5 separate regions of the Homo sapiens genome follow, and regions 2, 3, 4 and 5 are each linked to region 1. Evidence: promoter capture Hi-C in 16 types of primary human blood cells and fetal thymus (Javierre and others, 2016). All regions are on one chromosome and are shown on one strand. The core of a region is centred on a gene start or on the middle of the fragment in contact, and the rest is flanking DNA. Distances in the headings are between cores, read along the strand shown. Region 1 holds the start of LINC01011 (long intergenic non-protein coding RNA 1011). Region 2 overlaps ECI2-DT (ECI2 divergent transcript). Region 3 overlaps PRP4K (pre-mRNA processing factor kinase PRP4K). Region 4 overlaps PRP4K (pre-mRNA processing factor kinase PRP4K). Region 5 holds the start of PRP4K (pre-mRNA processing factor kinase PRP4K).

Region 1 (3,531 bases), core at 273-2,772:
CTATAATACTGGATTGCTTGAGTTTGTGACACATGTTAACATTTGCAACATTTTTAAACTAAATTGTATGTATTATAGAACAGTCCTCTGCGCTGAGCTTGGACTTAAAGTGGAAAGGCTTACATTTGCAGAATTAAAAAAAGCATCGAAACATTCTGTGGCAGGAAGTCCTGCGAGCCTCCTCGCCCCAGCCCGGTTTCCCGCGGGCCCCAGCCTCATCCCCCAAGGCCCCACCCTGAGAGCCCCCAGGTCCCAGCCGCGTCCTCCTGGACCCCTCCCAGGCGTGGCGAGCCGGGTCGCGGGAGCGCTCCGCCACCAGGGGACAGTGCGGCGCCGACCGTGGGCTGCTGGCTCGGCCGAGGGCACCCAGGCGCCCTCCGCTGCAGCGGGCTGGTTGCAGAGGGGCGGGCTCTCGCCAGGCAGCAGGCGCTCCGGGCGCAGCTGGGAGGAAGGAACGCCCCCGGGAGTGGGCGGCGGCCGAGGGACCCTGCAACCGTCCTCCCTGGAGGAGGCCCCCGCAGCTCCCGCAGCCCCCCTCATCCCGGACGGGCCGGGGATTGGGACTGGCCTGGGGTCTCCTACTCTCCTACTCCGCGCAGGAAGTAGCCCCTTGGCAGGACCGGCGGTGCCTGCTGCTTTCAGGAGCCCCGAGCCGCTTTTGTCTGGGTGCAGCTCAGCTCACATCCCCGATGCAAGTCTTTCCCGGCTCGTCTCCCCTTCTTCCCGGAGTCCATGCCTTGCTGTCGGTGACTCATCCCACACTGTGCCCTGCGACTCACCCTGTCGCTTTCTCTGTTCATCCGGGAGCGCGGCGCCATCTCCCTCCAGCCCCGCCTCCCCTACAGTGCTCCGTGCTGAGGTCGCACGTTCTCTCCTCCCTCCAGCTCCCTGGCTCTTGGCCCTTCCCAGGCCACCAGGCGACAGCAGCCTCCGCCTTCATTTCCCTTGGTCATTTCAGGCGCATGCTTGGAGGATTTCAGGATCTGACTCAGCTTCCCCGCCATGCATCCCTCCACCAGCATCCAGTCACACCTCTGCAGCCTTCAGTGTCCTGGAAAGGACTGACCAATCTGACCCATTAGAACCTACCCAGACCAATTTGAAGGCCACTGCCCCTCAACCGTGGCCACCCACTCCTGCCCCACCTGGAGCCCCAAACTGCTCAGTTCCTTCTCTAAAACTCTGCCCTCTTTTGTTTGTTGTGAATAACTGTCTTCCCTGGTTCTTTCCACACCTCTCTGGCCTCTCCTTGTCTTTTTCTGGTTCTTTTTTTCTCTATTCTCCCTTATGCACTGGCCTTGCTGGAGGTCCCTGCTCTCCCTGCAAAACCTCACCACACCCTTGACTTCAGCTATATCCATTTCACCTCACGTTGACATCTGGTGCCTAGACCTCTCTCCCGAGCCTTCCACACCATGCCAAAAATGAAATTCATTTTCTCCTCTAAATTTGCTCACCTTCTTGTTTTCCCAATCTTATTTATTGTCACAGCCATTCCCCTGCTGGTCCAAGTCAGTAGTCTGAGAGTCATGCTAGACTCCTCCTTCCTTATCTACCCATCCACCAATCCCCAAGCCCTGTCTATCCTCCTTTTTTTTTTTTTTTTTTTCCAGTCAGAGTCTTGCTGTGTTGCCCAGGCTAGAGTGCAATGGCACGATCTCGGCTCACTGCAATCTTTGCCTCCCGGGTTCAAGTGATTCTCCTGCCTCAGCCTCCTGAGTAGCTGGGATTACAGGCGCATGTCACCACGCCCAGCTAATTTTTGTATTTTTAGCAGAGATGAGGTTTTGCCATGTTGGCCAGGCTGGTCTTGAACTGCTGACCTCGTGATCCGCCTGCCTCTGCCTCCCAAAGTGCTGGGATTACTGGCATGAGCCACTGTGCCTGGTCATCTATCCTCCTTTTTAAATAGCTCTGCCATGTGTGCCTGTCTCCCCTGACAGCTCACCCTCATCCTATTTGTCCACATTGCTGCAGAGTAGTCTCTTCCATACACCAGGAGTTCCCAACCCCCGGGCCACAGACCTGACTGGTCTGTAGCCTGTTAGGAACCAGGACACACAGCAAGAGGTGAGCCACCAGTGGGTGAGCTAGTGAAGCTTTATCTGTATGTGCAGCTGCTCCCCATTGCTTGCATTACCACCAGAGCTCTGCCTCCTATCAGATCAGGCAGCATTAGATTCTTATAGGAGCACAAACCCTACTGTGAACTGCACACATAAGGGATCTAGGATGTGCGCTCCTTATGAGAATCTAATGCCTGATAATCTGCCGTTGTCTTCATCACCCCCACATGGGGCCAGATAGTTGCAGGAAAACAAGCTCAGGGCTCCCACTGAAAATAAAGTGCACAAGAAGTGTCATGTGCTTGAATCATCCCGAAACCATCCTCTGCTGTCCAAGGAAAAATAGTTTTCCACAAAACCCCTCCCTGGTGCCAAAAAGGTTGGGATGGTTGCCATACATAACTCTGATGATGAGACCACGAAGCTCAGAATCCTCCAGAGGCTCTCCACTGCCTGTAAGATGAAATAAAATTTATGGGTGTGACTTATCCATAAGGGCCCAGTCTAAACTGCCTCATATTTAATTATATAGTAAGCTATTTGTTTCCTCAAACGTATATATTTTGGCCCATTTCCCAGTCTCCTAGGTTGGAATATGCTCTGTGTGTCACCTGGCCAGCTCATGCTCTTTCTCATTCTCAGCTCAAGTGTTAGGGACTCTATGACACCTTTCTTGATTCTCCCAGTCAGACATATTGTTGCTACTTTTTCTTAACACTTATCCTTTTATCCTTGGCACCACTAAAGCACATATCACATCAGATTTCACTTGTTTGCACATCTGTCTGGCATCTTGAGCCCAGGGACCGTGTCGCCTGTCTTCATGTCCCCAGGCCCTAGTGTAGCTCCCAGCCTATAGTGAGTGCAGAATAAAAGTTTGTAGAATGAGGCCAGGCGCGGTGGCTCATGCCGGTAATCCCAGCACTTTGTGAGGCCAAGGTGGGCAGATCACGAGGTCAGGAGTTTGAGACCAGCCTGACCAACATGGTGAAACCTCGTCTCTACTAAAAATACAAAAAATAGCCGGGTGTGGTGGCACGCGCCTGTAATCCCAGCTACTCAGGAGGCTGAGGCAGGAGAATCGCTCAAACCTAGGAGGTGGAAGTTGCAGTAAGCTGAGATCGCGCCACTGCACTCCAGCCTGTGCAACAGAGTGAGACTCTGTCTCAAAAAAAAAAAAAAAAGTTTGTAGAATGAATGAAACAATTAGTTACACCACAGTTAGTGAGTCATCGATACTTCATCAAGGCTGGGTATTTCGTATAATAAAGTTATTAAAGCTGATAAGCAAAGATCAAGTTACCCAAAGAACAGCACTGCCGGTGATCTAAAGGTCTTTGCCCTCAGGTTGCTTAGGTAACGGAAAGGATAAGAACTCCCCACTGTTCTGGGGCGGATCTTACATTGCTTTTGGAAGAGGCAATAGACTTGGGAAAGAAAGGAGTGTGTGTATTGAGGTATTGAG
Region 2 (3,531 bases), core at 706-3,205, 1.2 Mb before region 1:
ATTCTTCTCAGCCCTTAAATGCATGTAAATTATATGACATTGTGTTGAATACATATAATTGTCTTTGTGGCTCTCTGTGGTTAACTAAATTGTAGGTATTGTTCTTGTTCTTATGTATTCATTAGGACAGGTAAATTAATTTAAGCTGTGGTGTAAACAAGAAAAAATGGAATGACTTCAGAAAAGCAGCCATTTCTTACACAGTGTATCTATCAGTTCCAATCATTTTCAGAGGGAGAGTCCTCCAAAAATAATTTTTTTTTTTTTTTTTTGCTACAGAAGGATAGTTGAAAAGTATCCTCAAATACAAGGTCAGGTTAATGCTTGTGCAACATACAGAAAGAGTGGATAAAAGAGCCTTGGATGAATGAACAAATCACGCAGGTGTAAAGCACTTAGACAGAGGTGATAACATGAGCCAAATGTTTACTTTTGAAATGACTTTCTTCTCTAAATTATAACGATGGGAAATAAGAAAAACACCCCAAAGCAGGTAATATTCCAGCATACTATTTTTAATATCTCTGACATATAAGATTGTGTAGGAAGGCAATACAAAGCCTAGCTAGGAAGAAGAAAAGAGGATTAATTTTGTAAAGGAGACATAATAATGCCACAGGTTTAATTTATCTCAAGCAATGTCATCCAGCTAAAGCAGGAAACAATTATGATACAGAACGTTGAACGTGGACTAATCATTTTAATGACTAATGGAAAAAGCTATAATAGATTTTTCACCCAGAAATTTATAGAGTTAAGTAACACCACAGTTGCCTTCGTACCACTCTCCCCAGTTCATTTCGGCACAGGAACTTGGCAACAGTCAAAGTCCTCTGCCTTTAGCTACCACTCACTGAAAAAGCAACATTTCAAACCACAAAAACACTCATGTTAACACCTTCTGACAACTTAATGAAAAGGTAGCAACTGACTCACAACTTATTATCAAATGTGGAAAAGCACGCTCTAGAAGGAAACTTTCAACAGCTCATCCATCATCCAACAAACCTTCACAGAGTACAGTATTTTCTGTCAAGCAGTGTGTCCAGAAATGAGAAAGGGGTTGAATACAGGGTAGAATTCTTCCCAGGATATGCCCCTTGTAATAAAATAGATTACTAATCAGATATAAAACACAGTGACATAGGGGCCAGAAGAAAGAAACGCCCAGGAGACTGTAGGAACTCAGGACAGGACTAACCAGTGGGTGGGTCAGAGGAGATTCCTGGATATGCCAATGCCTGGAATGAGAGAACCTGGAAACTCAGAGAAACTGAGCATCCCAAGTTCACCTGAAATGGGAAGTTAACATGTGGGGCTGGAAAGAGGTGCCTGAGAAGGTAGGCAAGGGCAAATCTTGTGGGCCTTATTTGCCAGTGCTAAGCAGCTTGGGTTTGTTTAACAGGCAAAGGGGACTCACTAAGAGATTTTCAGCCAAGGGGAGAGATCGGGGAGAATCGTGTGGAGTGTAAGATTTAAAATTTAGGGAGACCAGCCTGGAAGCAGGGAGAGAATGGATTGCAGAGGTAACTGAATTAGCAAAACTGGGAAGTGGCTGCTACAGGAATCCAGGTAACAGTAATCTCAAAATCAATGAGAGCATGAATTAAGACGATGCAGAGGGATGTGAGATGAGGGGGAAAATTAAAAAAATATATTTAGGAGACAGAATCACTAGTATTTGATGAATGATAGATGTGAGGTGTCAGTGAGGTAAGGGAATCAAAGACTCTTCCAGGTTTCTAGCTTGCACTGTTAATTGGGACAGTGTATCAGAATTGTTCCTCAAGACTGAATGTGACAGACTCTGTACATGCTGTAACAACAGTATCTGATGATGTAAATATTGGAAATAAAAATTATCATGACTGACAGAGTCATCATGTAACATTCTACTCTGATATAATCTATTCTATGATCTTAAAAAAGAAACATTCACACTACCACTGAGCACAACACTGTGAAGTCGATATGCTGACCCCAAAGATTCATTATAGCCGGAGACAACACTTCCTGTGCACCTGCTAAGAGAGTCTGAGATTCTCTCAACCCAAAGAACATCAACGGCCCTCCCAGGCAGCATCAGTCCCCTGCAATCAATAAGACAGGATCTAACCAGACTGGAGGACCCCCTCCCCAAGATTTTCATAAGCTCCAGGGGAAGCTGGTTATATAACAGGGTGAAGATTAGAGCTTTAGAGAGGTCTTGACTGAGTTTCTGCCTTTCCTACTCTTATCCAGAACCATTACACCCTGAAGATATATCTGGAGTCCAGGATTTCACTGAGAACTGGATAGCTGGGCATGCCAATTGTATCTTCAATGGCTCTCTGCTTGCTCTCAGCACGGAATCCAAACTCCTTAGCACAGATACAATGATCTTCAAGCTCAGGTGGAGAATCTACCAAAATCACAATGGTTCCCTTTTGCTGCAACTGGCCCTCCCACCCACAGGGCCATGGCAGCCATGTTTACAAGGCATGGTCTGGACACCTCTTAACAGTTTAGTAAACCAAATACGGACCCAAGATGACCCTCTTTAGGATCTAGGAATCTAAATGTCTGTCTCTTTAACCAGGAATGTCTGTCTCTTTAACCATCTCCTTTCTCTCAAATGCTGGATATAATGGGGCTTTAGTAAATGACAGCTGGTAGATATGCAAATGATTTCTCCAATAGGAAAAACATTCCTCCCGAGGTTATGGTTTTATTGCTCTATGGGATATTAACCAGTTTTGTTTCTAACTTTGCAATCTATTCCAGCATTCTTTTTTTAACATTGACTATATTAAACTAGTCTTTTAACTTCTTCTTTAGCACCCTGTTGGTTCCCTAATTAATGAGCTAAGTAAATCTTTGACACATGCTCTTTCTATATTTTTAAAATTATAGTTTGAAAAAGATAAGCTAATTTCCCACACCCCACTCTTTTCTGTGGTAGGTATAAGCCTGAGAGTAGTTTGCTTGCATTGCAAAAGGTTTCACTATCAAAATATGCTTACCAGTATGAGATTTAAAAAATATTTCCATGACAGCTGTTTCATCTTCTGGAAATGAATGAGTCTTGTATTATCTGCAATATCTGATTACTGCATTTCCATTACCTCTGAGGTTATCTAACAGCCTTGGAGAGAGTCAAGGTCTCTGAGAGAGGCAGCTCAGCCTACCAACTACCACTTTGTAATATATGGAGAGGCCAGGTGTGGTGGCTCACACCTGTAATCCCAACACTGGGAGGCCGAAGCGGGTGGATCACCTGAAATCAGGAGTTTGAGACCAGTCTGACCAACAAGGTGAAACCCCATCTCTACTAAATACAAAAAATTAGCCGGGCCTGGTGGCGCATGCTTGTAATCCCAGCTACTCGGGAGCCCGAGACAGGAGAATCACTTGAACCCAGGAGGTGGAGGTTGCAGTGAGCCGAGATTGTGCCAGTGCACTCCAGCCTACGCAACAAGACGGAAACTCCATCTCAAAAAAAAAAAAATCTCTTTGGGATAAGCCCAAATTGTTCTATTTGACTTTTGGTGT
Region 3 (3,531 bases), core at 580-3,079, 1.1 Mb before region 1:
AAATAAAACAAGATCAGTTATCACACATGCAGGGAATTCTGCCACAAAGCTAACATCCCTCATTTGTCAGTTGTTCCAATAAAATAACATCTTAAAACACCAGAGATGTTGATGGTTTAGCTTACCTTCAGTGTACTGAATGCTGCACACAACCTGCTTTAAAAGGAGACCATCCCTGCAGGCAGGCTCAAGAAGGAACAGACCCCTTTCGGCACTGACTACACCAAGGGCATGCTGCTGTGGCCTGCACACACACACCTAGGAAAACGTGAATATAAACAGCATTTATGCTGGCCATTTTATCTCAAGACCAAAATGAAGCCAAGTCTGCTAAGAACAAATCAACCACCCAATATTACTACTCATTTCATAACAGATGCTTTTGTCTTTATGTGAACTGCAACCATATACATTAGCACTGTAATTTTGTGCAGTCTTGGCAATTTAAAACAGTCTACAGTGAAATTTCACGTAAGACACAAAACAGATTAACTAACATCTCTAAAAGAAATATCACCCTTGGTGTTAATTCAAATATATCATGCTTCCTCAAATTTGCTGGAGAAATATTTATAAGTTTATATACATTAATAAACTGCTGTGAAATTTCTTCAGTCTTTGTATTTACTCAAACCCTTGGAGTTTCTTCATCTTGTTTAAATTTTTTCCTGGATGAAGGCGTGCTGTAGGGCCTGGTTGATGCTAATTCGTTTAGCTGGGTCCAACATCAGAATCTGGTCCAACAAGTCCTTTAGCTGGTGTACTTTCTTACGTTGGTCTTCAGGAAGTCTCTGGCACCCAATCAAGTCAGCCAACAGGTCCTTAGTTGGATTAATGGTGCTCATAACAGTAACTTTCTCCTAAAAATAATTTTTAAAATGCGTATCTCTAAATAAGTTACTAAGCATATACAACTTAAATCAGATTGTTTTGGGGTCTATCAAAAATATTAAAAACATGCATATACATACAAAATATATACACACAGTGCACATTTTGGGCAATGACAGACTGCATATATGACAGTGGTCCCTTAAGATTGGAATACCGTATTTTTGCTCTCCCTTTTCTATGTTTAGATACATACATACACTTACCACTTGCAAAAGTGCCTACAGTATTCAGTCCACCAACTTACAGTTCAGGCCTAGAAGCAAAAGGCCATACTACTTACCCTAGATGTGTGTGAGTGTATGCTGTGGTTATGTGACGCATGACTGTATCATCATCATCTATTCATTTAAAACTTTGCTGTGGTTTCCTCTATGCTGTACATCTTTTTAAAAGGTAACCAAAAAACTTAAATGAAAAAGTTGATGCCAACTCTGGGCTGGGCGCGGTGGCTCACACCTGTAATCCCAGCACTTTGGAAGCCCAAGGTAGGTGGATCACTTGAGCTCAGGAATTCGAGACCAGCCTGGGCAACACTGCAAAACCCATCTCTACTAAAAATACAAAAATTATCCAGGCGTGGTGGCACACAATTGTAATCCCAGCTACTCGGGAGGCTGAGGCATGAGAATTGCTTGAACCTGGGAGGCAGAGGTTGCTGTGAGCCAAGATCGTGCCATTGCACTTCACCCTGGGTGACAGGTGACAGAGCGAGACTCAGTCTCAAAAAAGAAAAAAAAAGTCAACTCCAAGTTAGCAATGAAAATTTACAATAAGATAAGCATGAGCTGTTTGCACTGTACTTTCCCTACCTTGAAGTGGTAAGTGACAGACATGTGAATAAGTTAATACCCTGAAGTATTATTAAGTGCTCTGACAAAGACAGGGACATATGCTATAATAATGGGACAAAAATAAGGAAATCATTACTTCAATCTGGGAGTTTTCAAAAGGCTCATACAGAATGTGTATTTCAGCTGAGGCTTGAAGATGATACATTTTTTAGGGGGTTGGGGGTGAGGCAGCACAGGAAATGACTAAGCTCAGGGAGGTCTGTTAGCAAAGGCACAAAGGTCTGAACCAGCACGCCTTCTGGCCAAATGTGGAAAGGTGGGGGTTCTGAATGTACTGAAGAGAGGTCTGAAAACTGAAGAAAGCAGTTGGATTTGTCATTCTGAGGAACTTAAATATTATTTCATAGGTAACAGGGAGCCAACAAAGGTTTTTAAGCAGGGATAGGAACATGACCAGATATGTTTTCAGAAACATCACTCTAGCAGCAATAAGAAAGCTGGATGGGAAGCCAGACCAAGAAAGTAATCCAAAGAAGATGTGACGAGGGCCTAAATATGACCTATAATAAAAATAAATTAATTATGCTAGAAAAACATTTTAAAATCCCTCCATCTTTTCCATGGTCTGATGTGTTTTATTTAGGAATTGGTCGACAGCAAAAAGGAAATACTTACTTTTGGGTTTTTGTTTTTTTTTTAATTCACCAGCTCGTATGATTTAGTACTCAGTTAACAATAAAATAACTATTGCATGCTGCATTTAAAACACTTACCCTCTCTGTTACTTTATCAACTTCTATGTACATGAAGTTGAGATTTTGATCAAAATGCTGATCTTTGAACACACCTTTTCGAATCATCTACAAAACAAAACAAAAACTTGGGTTTTGAACTATTATGAAACAGGCCTACTAACAATTTAATTAATATACAATAAGTCAAATAAGTATGTTATTTAGTCTCTGTAGGTTTGTTTGATCTCAGATTCCCTTGATCCCAGGAATTCATTAACATCTTTGCAAAAGCAAATACCAATGCTGTACCTAAAACTACTTAATAACATGAAATTATATTTGTCCAGGCAGTGACTTAAAACAATTATAACATCAAATTGTCCTTTCACTATTTAAAATTGGAGAGTCAACAAAGACTTTAAATTATTTCTTCCTAAAAATATCACAAAACTCAGGTTTTTTCTCCTTGGCAGTTAGGGAACCTAATGCCACTTTACTAATTATGTTCCAACAGCCCTGATACAGGTCAGACTTCATTAAAACTAATACCAACATAGCTCATTTTTATGTAACTTATTCTAAAAAAAGTCCAACCTAATAGAATTTGGACAATATGTACAAATCAGCCTGGTCAACATAGTGAAACTCCATCTCTACAAAAAAATTATTAAATAAATTAACTGGTTGTGGTGGCACATGCCTGTAGTCCCAGCTACATTGGAGACTGAGGCAGGAGAACTGCTTGAGCCCAGGGGTTCGGTTCAAGGCTGCAGTGAGCTATAACTGTACTCCAGTCTGGGACACAGAGCAAGATCCAGTCTCAAAACAACAACAACAACAAAACACAACTGAAAACCATACAGTTTTCTGACCTTTACGAAAAATGTGTAAATCTTTAGAAATTCAGCAAATAGGCTGAAATCTTAAAAAGCTAAGTTACAGCCGGGTGCGGTGGCTCATGCCTATAGCTACTCGGGAGGCTGAGGCAGGAGAATGGCATGAACCCGGGAGGCAGAGCTTGCAGTAAGCTGAGATCGCGCCACTGCACTGCAGCCTGGGCGACAAAGCAAGACTCCGTCTCAAAAAAAAAAAAAAAAAAAAAGCTAAGTTAT
Region 4 (3,531 bases), core at 305-2,804, 1.1 Mb before region 1:
AGGGAGGGGTGGGGTGGGGAGGGGAGGAAAACCCTCAGGCAAGGAGAATGTCAAGAGAGATGATAGCAGAGATGAGAATAAAATCTTAGAATGTGCAAATTGGAGTAAAGAATAGTAACAGATCAAATTGAGCTGAATATTGGTCCAACATGAACACACAAGGTAAATCAGAAACAGTCAGAACATGTCACAACACCCCCAGAAAGCCTCAGGAATTGGAGACTCCCTATCCTCTGCAAGATGGTGTGAGGTAAGAGCTGAGGACAGAATTGGTTGAAAGCCTTTATAAACAGCCAGACTCGGTACAGTCCCCTCCCCAACTCAGTGGAAAATGTCAACCACTCCCTTCACATTCTAGCAGAACACTTAAGATTTGCTTTCTAGAGAAGGGTTGGTCACTCCAGATGCTGAGAGGCACATACCAAAGATAGACAGATTATAAGGAAGTTTACATTATGAAGGAAGAGAACTCTACTGGTAGCCAGGTCTATTTCCCAGGAGGAAATGAAAGGATTCCGGAAAACTCATAGCCCAAGAAAATACATCTACAGTCACTAATATCCAAAAATATCTAATTACTCTGAAGTGATAACCACTAGCTGACAAGTCCTACACTGTCACAATAGAAGAAAAATCCCATTCAGCTTTCTCAGTACCTAAATATTAACTCAGAATAGGCAGCAATGAAGGATCCAGCTGTGTGAGAAAAGTCTTCAAATGAAAAGTAAACATGCAGCAAAAGGAATCTGGGAAGAAACACAATATAGCAAAGAAAACTATAAAGAACAAAAATCTCACACAATAACCTCGCTATTGTCTGAGAGACAGAAAATACTATTTCCAGAAAACATGAATAAAATGTTAATACGTGGAACAATATAGAAGGTCCAATTGGAAAAAACAGAAAGAAAGAAAGAAAGAAAAAAAAAAGCACAAAAATTTCCCAGAAGGCCATAAACTCCCTGCTTTAAAGGGCCTATCTAGTAATTAGCAAAATAAATGGGGATAAAGATCTACATACCGAGGCACATAATAAATTTCAGAACACAAGACATTTTTTATAAAAAGGGAAGAGAGAAAAAAGCAAGTCTTGAGATCAGCTTGGAGCAAGAAGACTAGCAGTGTCAGAAGGGAGGTCCTCTCTTCCCTCCTCTCCCAACTATTTGCTCAGCAATGAATACATACAGGATCACAATGATTATACTGACTCTAGAAGAACAAAAAAGTGTGATGAAATTAGGCAAAAGCGAAACATGAGTAAGCGGTAGTATTAAAAACCCTCATTGTGGCTGGGTGCAGTGGGCCAAGACGAGCGGATCATTTGGGGTCAGGAGTTCGAGACCAGCCTGACCAACATAGTGAAACTCCATCTCTATTTAGAAAAATACAAAAAAAAAAAAGCTGGGCATGGTGGCATGGGCACCTCTAGTCCCAGCTACTTGAGAGGCTGAGGCAGAATTGCTTGAACTCAGGAGGTGGAGGTTGCAGTGAGATCGCGCCATTGCACTCCAGCGTGGGCAACAGAGTGAGACTGTCAAAAAATAAAATAAAATAAAATAAAATAAAACCCCTCATTGACCAGAGTGCACTCAGACCATGCATTTCCATTTCTAGGAATACAGCATACAAAAATTCTGAGAGATATGTAAAGATGGCTATAATATAAGCCTTTGTTTCTTAAAAATTATATTCATTTATTACTTCAATTAAAAATGTTAAAAGATTGGCAAACAAATACCCATTTATGTTTTATATTAAAATATTTCATGTATGTATGAATTTTAAAAAATGATTCCCTGCTTTATAAACCACCTTTTTAACCTATTACTGACTACATATGCTTCAGATAAAATGGTTTCTATGGCAAATTAAATAGGCCTTTGCCTAAGTCTACAGTAACTATCAATATGCAAAATTAATATAAAATGTAAGAAACTGGGCTATATATTTACTACTACATGATCTACCTTGCTGGTTAAAAAAAAAAAAAAATCCCTAAGTCTGGCTCATTTAGTATTGATTGATAAAAGAGAGAAAAAAGTCCTATTTTTAAAAGACTAATTTTATTGCATCCTAAATGAGCAATGATTTGTTTAAAATTCAAAGGAAACGATATAAAAGAAAACCCATGTGTAGAGATTGCTGGTAAAAGGAAACTATGGGAACACAACTACGATTTTTCAGAGAAAACTGGTCTAAAAGAAAACCTACCAAGTGAGCTCACTGGTGGTTCAAAAACATTCAGAGTTTAATGAATCACAAGGATGAAATGTCTTTACCTTCTCCGAGGAGATCTGCTTCTTCTTCTTGGAGACCTGCTACGTCTGAGTGGGGAACGAGACCTCCTTCTAATGGGAGATCTACTTCTTCTTCGGGTTGGAGACCATCTATTGATGGGGCTGGCATCTTTTGATCTTTCACGTCTACTGAGGATATCATCTCGAGGTCGTGTTCTTAAGGGGATCAAATGCAAGTTAAAAGAAATATAAATCAAAGTAAATGATTTTTTTCTATATGCAAAGAACATCTGTAAGAAAAGGCACATTAGCCTAAAGAAAGTGAACTTTGATTAATGTGTTTTGTAACAAAACTTACTCAGGTGACTACAGTGATATTTTGGTGTTATTGCAGGCAAACAATGAAAGGTCTTATTTCCTCTGGTCCCACAGTTTGAAAAATTACTAAAGGTTATTCATACCGGTAAAGTCACTGATTCTAATTTCAAATAAACCAACTCAAATAAAACCTCCCCAAGTGAGTATAATACTCCATTTACTCAAATATTCCATTTTCATTGACGACTTTTTCTTTCTACATCCTGACATTTCTCCAATTAAGGATCTTTTTTTTTTTTTTTTTTTTTTGAGACAGGGTCTAACTCTGTCACCCAGGCTGGAGTGCAGTGGCGCAAACACGGGTCACTGCAGCCTTGACCTCCCAGGCTGAGGCAATCCTTCCACTTCAGCCCCCCTGAGCAGCTGGAACCATAAGGGCATGCCACCACACCTGACTAATATTTTGTTTTGTAGTGATGGGGGTCTCACTATGTTGCCCAGGCTGGTCTCGAACTCCTGGCCTCAAGTGGTTCTCCCTTGGCCTCCAAAAGTGCTGAGGTTACAGGTGTGACCCACCATGCCCGGGCAAAAATCTTCTTTTTAATGTCAAGTATAATAGGCCAGGCACAATGGTTTACACTTGCAATCCCAGCACTTTCAGAGGCTGAGGGAGGACCGCCTGAGCCCATGAGGTTGAGGCTGCAGTGGCTGTGTTTGTGCCACTGCAGCCCAAGTGACAGAGTGAGAACTTGTCTCAAAAAAACAAAAACAATAGCTAGGTGTGGTGGCTCACACTTGTAATCCCAGCACTGTGGGAAGCTGAGGCAGATGGATCACTTAAGCTCATGAGTTTGAGACCAGCCTGGGTAACATGGCGAAACCCTATCTCTACAAAAAATATCAAAATTAGCCAAGTGTGGTGGCATGTGCCTATAGTCCCAACTAATAGGGAGGCTCAAGTGGGAGGATTGTGTAA
Region 5 (3,531 bases), core at 378-2,877, 1.0 Mb before region 1:
TCCTGGAAATGAATCTGAAACATCCCTAAAATCAAATAAATGGACATAATATTACAGAACTTTTCAGATTAGTAGAAAATGTAACCACATAGCATGAGATCTGCACGGTACTGGCATAAACACTGTAATTGTGCCACACAATGAACTTGGTGAGAAACAGTAAGAGGTTAAAGCTAATTTAAAACTTCAGAATCCATTTGTTCTCTGCTAAGTCAAATTGTAAAAATAATACAGCAGTTTTGAAAAGCCCTTAATTAAAAATTCCGTTTCTCTGCCTAGCTGAGTAATGCAGATGATTGAGGAGCCCAAAACTGGATGCACAGCAATTAAGTGTCAGGTTGTCTGGTGGCAAAGATTTCTTCTATCGCTCAGTCACAAGTTGCTGGGAGACTATACCTCTTTCTAAGATGGCTGGAAACAGATCAGACAGTGCAGATGCAAAAAAAAACAAAAAACAAAACAAAAAAAAAAAACGGTCGCTATAGGAACATTGCCGTAAAATCCATTCTCTCTGTTAAGGTTCTTGTTTGAGTTTTCCTAACATAGACATGAACAGCAAAATACTGCTTTAAGTTAACCAATGGTTAACCTTTGCAGCATACACTCGTATTTTTTTTTTTTTCATTTTTCATTTGGCCGCATGGATTCTTAATGTTAGCTTAATTATAGACATAAAGTGGTTTGGCAGTAGCTAGCAATTCCCACTACTCCTTCCACTCGTCCTCCTAAAGAAGGGTTATAAACTCAGGCAAAAAAAAAAAAAAAAAAAAAATGCCAGGCCTCAAAACCAAAGACTCTATCTTACTTTGCCTCAAGTTTGCAAGTTGGTAAAAAAGCTGCCGGTAGGCACTCAAAACAAAACAAAACAATACTGGGTGACTGCTGGACTAAAGAGTACAAGGTGACGAGATCAAGTATCCCGCTAGCCACAGACTAGCTCTGGGATGGCCAGAGAGTGTGACCCCAGCACCTCCGCTCTCTGCTTTCAGGTCCTAAACTGACACCAGTAAAAGGACGACTGGGGGTACCGCATGAGGAAGAAAAGACTTAGGGCTTGGCCCGCCTGCTGCCACTGACCCTCGTGTCCCCAACACAGATGCCGCTAAGAGCTGCGGCCAGGGAGCTCAGATGGGTCCCCAAAAGAGGCATAGGAAAGCGCGACCTCACTGCCGCGGCAGCCGCCACGCGCACCGGACCTGTAGAGGCCGCTCGCGCCTACGCCTCCCGGGGCAACGACGCGCGGCAGGCCGCGGCCGCCTTCACCCCAGCAGCCACGGCCTCTGGGAGAAGGAAGCTCGAAGGCCGCCTGCTCCCCATGCCTCCCACCCCACAACGAATCGCGCCGGAAAAAGCAAAGTTTGACTCTCGCCGTTAGGCCCGAACTTTCCCGCCACCCCGTGCAGCTCCCACTCGGCAGTCCCCGGGCTCCAGCTTCTGGCCCACTCACAGAGACTACTTACTCTGGCTGCTCCCGTAGCGACTGGGTCTCCGCGGCGGCCATCTTGAACTTCCTGACTCCTCGGCGGCGGTGGCGGCGGCTCCCGGACGGTGGAGGGTAGGGGAAGTGGAGGAAGAAGGAAAAGAGCTGCCGCGCATGTGCCGACCGTGTAGGGAAGAGCTGGGTTCTGAGTCCGCGCTAAGAATCCGGATATAAAACCCCACGTCCCGGGACTAGCGCAGGGCGTAGTGTCGCAGCTTCCGGGAGCATGGTGGGCGGTGCTGCTAAGGATTGAGGTCGAGTGTCAAGCTTGAGCTCTTCAGTCAATGCTAGAAATGGACGTTTAGTTATTGAATCCCGCTAACGAGGGGAGCCAACAAGAGAGGGATGTCGGCATCGGGTGTGCGGTTCCAAGAACTGATTGGCTGTGGAGATTAGAAGTTAGGTGAAAATTCTCTTAAACTCGGGCAAACGAATTGATGATTTTTCCCCTGGTCGGTGTTAGAGACACAGTAAATGCTTAACCATCTCGCTAGACAGCTCAACTGAAGTGGCATTAACTTCCCGGGAAAGTGTGTAGAAAGGCATTTTTAAATACTGTAAACTCGAACGTAAATATCTTTTAATGTGGAACTGTTACTACATTTAACACTGAACATCTTTTCAACTTTTACATAGTTCAAGGGTGACACGATTCAGTTCGTTATTTCCGTAATTGGAACGTGTAATGTTTTTTGGCCCAAGTTGCGTTATGTGATTTTGTTTTCTTCTATAACGACTCTACAGTAATGGGGTAGAATGGAATATTGTGGGGAAAACATTTACTGGCTCTTGGAGAACTCTCAAAACCAATTAGGTTCTTTAATTCCTCTTTAAAAAAATATTTCTCGCCTGGCGCTGTGGCTCACCCCTGTAATCCCAGCACCTTGGGAGGCCGAGGCGGGCGGATCACCTGAGGCCAGGATTTGGAGACCAGCCTGGCCAACATGGTGAAACCCCGTCTCTATTAAAAATACAAAAAATTAGCTGGGCGTGGTGGCGCTCGCCTATAATCCCAGCTACTCCGGAGGCTGAGGCAGGAGAATCGCTTGAACCCGAGAGGCGGAGTTTGCACTGAGATCACGCCACTGCACTCCAGCCTGGGCGACAGAGCAAGATTCCATCTCAAAAAAAAAAAAAAAATTATCCATACTTTGGAACCTGGAAGCAGCGTGACGATCACTTTCATTCTTGTAATCATCTGAGTTTGCCTTTGTCCTAGAAAATTGAGTTCGGAATCTCCAGACTCCATACATATCTCTTGATTTCCAGGGGAGAAGGGTTTTAAATGTTCTTACAAAATGTCTCTTGTTGCCTGAATTCCAAACGTTTTGAAATGTTAGGGCCGGGCGCGGTGGCTCACGCCTGCAATCCTCTAGCACTTTGGGAGGCCGAGGCGGGCGGATTGCCTGAACTCAAGAGTTCGAGTCCAGCCTGGCCAACATAGCGAAACTCCGTCTCTGCTAAAAATACAAAAAATTAGCCGGCGTGGTGGCGCCTGTAGTCTCAGCTACTCGGGAGGCTGAGGCAAGAGAATCGCTTGAACCCGGGAGGCCGAGATCGCGCCATTGCACTCCAGCCTGGGCAACAAAAGCAAAAACGCCGTCTCAAATAAATAAATGAAATAAACTTAGTAAACTATTTTTAAATAATGTTAAAATTAACGGTGTACGTAGTAGAACTGTGAGAGATCTCATCTTGGAAATAGAGTGATATACTTGAAGGCAAGAGATTGGGTCAGGTACTATTAACACGTTTTACACATGAACAAACCGACACTAAGAGGTAAGGTAATTTGCTTATGATTGAGTTCCCAAGTACAAAGCTGATTTTTGAACTAAAATCTGACTCGAAAATCTGCTCTTTTCTTATCAGGCTGCTTCCTACAAAAATATAACCTCGCTTAGCATCTGCTTGTTAAGCATCCACCCTCACAGCTCTTTGGCATTCAAATGTTTGTTGAGTAGGGGTAATAGAGCACTACGTTCGAATCAGAAAATGCCTTATTTTTCCTTGCTTGCAAGAGCCTATTATAAATAAATGCCTTGTTTTCG

Evidence for each region. The method cuts DNA at HindIII sites, captures the fragments that hold promoters and counts their contacts. A CHiCAGO score of 5 or more calls a contact.
Region 2: a fragment that was not itself captured here is called in contact with the fragment with the promoter of LINC01011 in region 1 in 2 of 17 cell types (non-activated CD4 T cells and fetal thymus); the score reaches 8.3 in non-activated CD4 T cells.
Region 3: a fragment that was not itself captured here is called in contact with the fragment with the promoter of LINC01011 in region 1 in 1 of 17 cell types (naive CD8 T cells); the score reaches 5.7 in naive CD8 T cells.
Region 4: a contact is called between a fragment that was not itself captured here and the fragment with the promoter of LINC01011 in region 1, in 1 of 17 cell types (total CD8 T cells). The highest score is 5.4, in total CD8 T cells.
Region 5: the fragment with the promoter of PRP4K here is called in contact with the fragment with the promoter of LINC01011 in region 1 in 6 of 17 cell types (naive CD8 T cells, non-activated CD4 T cells, total CD8 T cells and 3 more); the score reaches 8.6 in naive CD8 T cells.

The regions. Positions count from the first base shown.
Region 1 is chr6:2,985,958-2,989,488 of GRCh38, reverse strand. LINC01011 (long intergenic non-protein coding RNA 1011) reads right to left here and starts at 1,522. Exons shown (of 3, transcript NR_026856.1): 1 at 1,458-1,522. NQO2-AS1 (NQO2 antisense RNA 1) reads left to right here. Exons shown (of 2, transcript NR_186367.1): 2 at 1-153. RefSeq lists a silencer at 158-577 and enhancers at 1-770, 771-1,580. The HindIII fragment of the contact is 2,996 bases long and covers 1-2,101 here.
Region 2 is chr6:4,136,874-4,140,404 of GRCh38, reverse strand. It overlaps ECI2-DT (ECI2 divergent transcript), which reads right to left. Exons shown (of 4, transcript NR_103764.1): 2 at 3,003-3,044. It overlaps LOC107986559 (a long non-coding RNA gene), which reads left to right. Exons shown (of 2, transcript XR_001743933.2): 2 at 1-71. Among named protein-coding and RNA genes, the nearest start is that of ECI2-DT, 2.6 kb to the right of the region's middle. The HindIII fragment of the contact is 5,893 bases long and covers 1-3,531 here.
Region 3 is chr6:4,057,742-4,061,272 of GRCh38, reverse strand. PRP4K (pre-mRNA processing factor kinase PRP4K) reads right to left here. Exons shown (of 15, transcript NM_003913.5): 14 at 2,459-2,545; 15 at 1-860. The coding sequence ends at 657. Among named protein-coding and RNA genes, the nearest start is that of FAM217A, 20 kb to the left of the region's middle. RefSeq lists an enhancer at 1,784-2,078. The HindIII fragment of the contact is 4,589 bases long and covers 1-3,531 here.
Region 4 is chr6:4,036,319-4,039,849 of GRCh38, reverse strand. PRP4K (pre-mRNA processing factor kinase PRP4K) reads right to left here. Exons shown (of 15, transcript NM_003913.5): 3 at 2,280-2,453. Among named protein-coding and RNA genes, the nearest start is that of PRP4K, 17 kb to the right of the region's middle. The HindIII fragment of the contact is 9,945 bases long and covers 1-3,531 here.
Region 5 is chr6:4,019,396-4,022,926 of GRCh38, reverse strand. It overlaps PRP4K (pre-mRNA processing factor kinase PRP4K), which reads right to left and starts at 1,627. Exons shown (of 15, transcript NM_003913.5): 1 at 1,461-1,627. The coding sequence starts at 1,501. LOC124901245 (a long non-coding RNA gene) reads left to right here and starts at 1,760. Exons shown (of 2, transcript XR_007059415.1): 1 at 1,760-3,531. RefSeq lists enhancers at 385-444, 1,487-1,796. The HindIII fragment of the contact is 11,601 bases long and covers 1-1,749 here.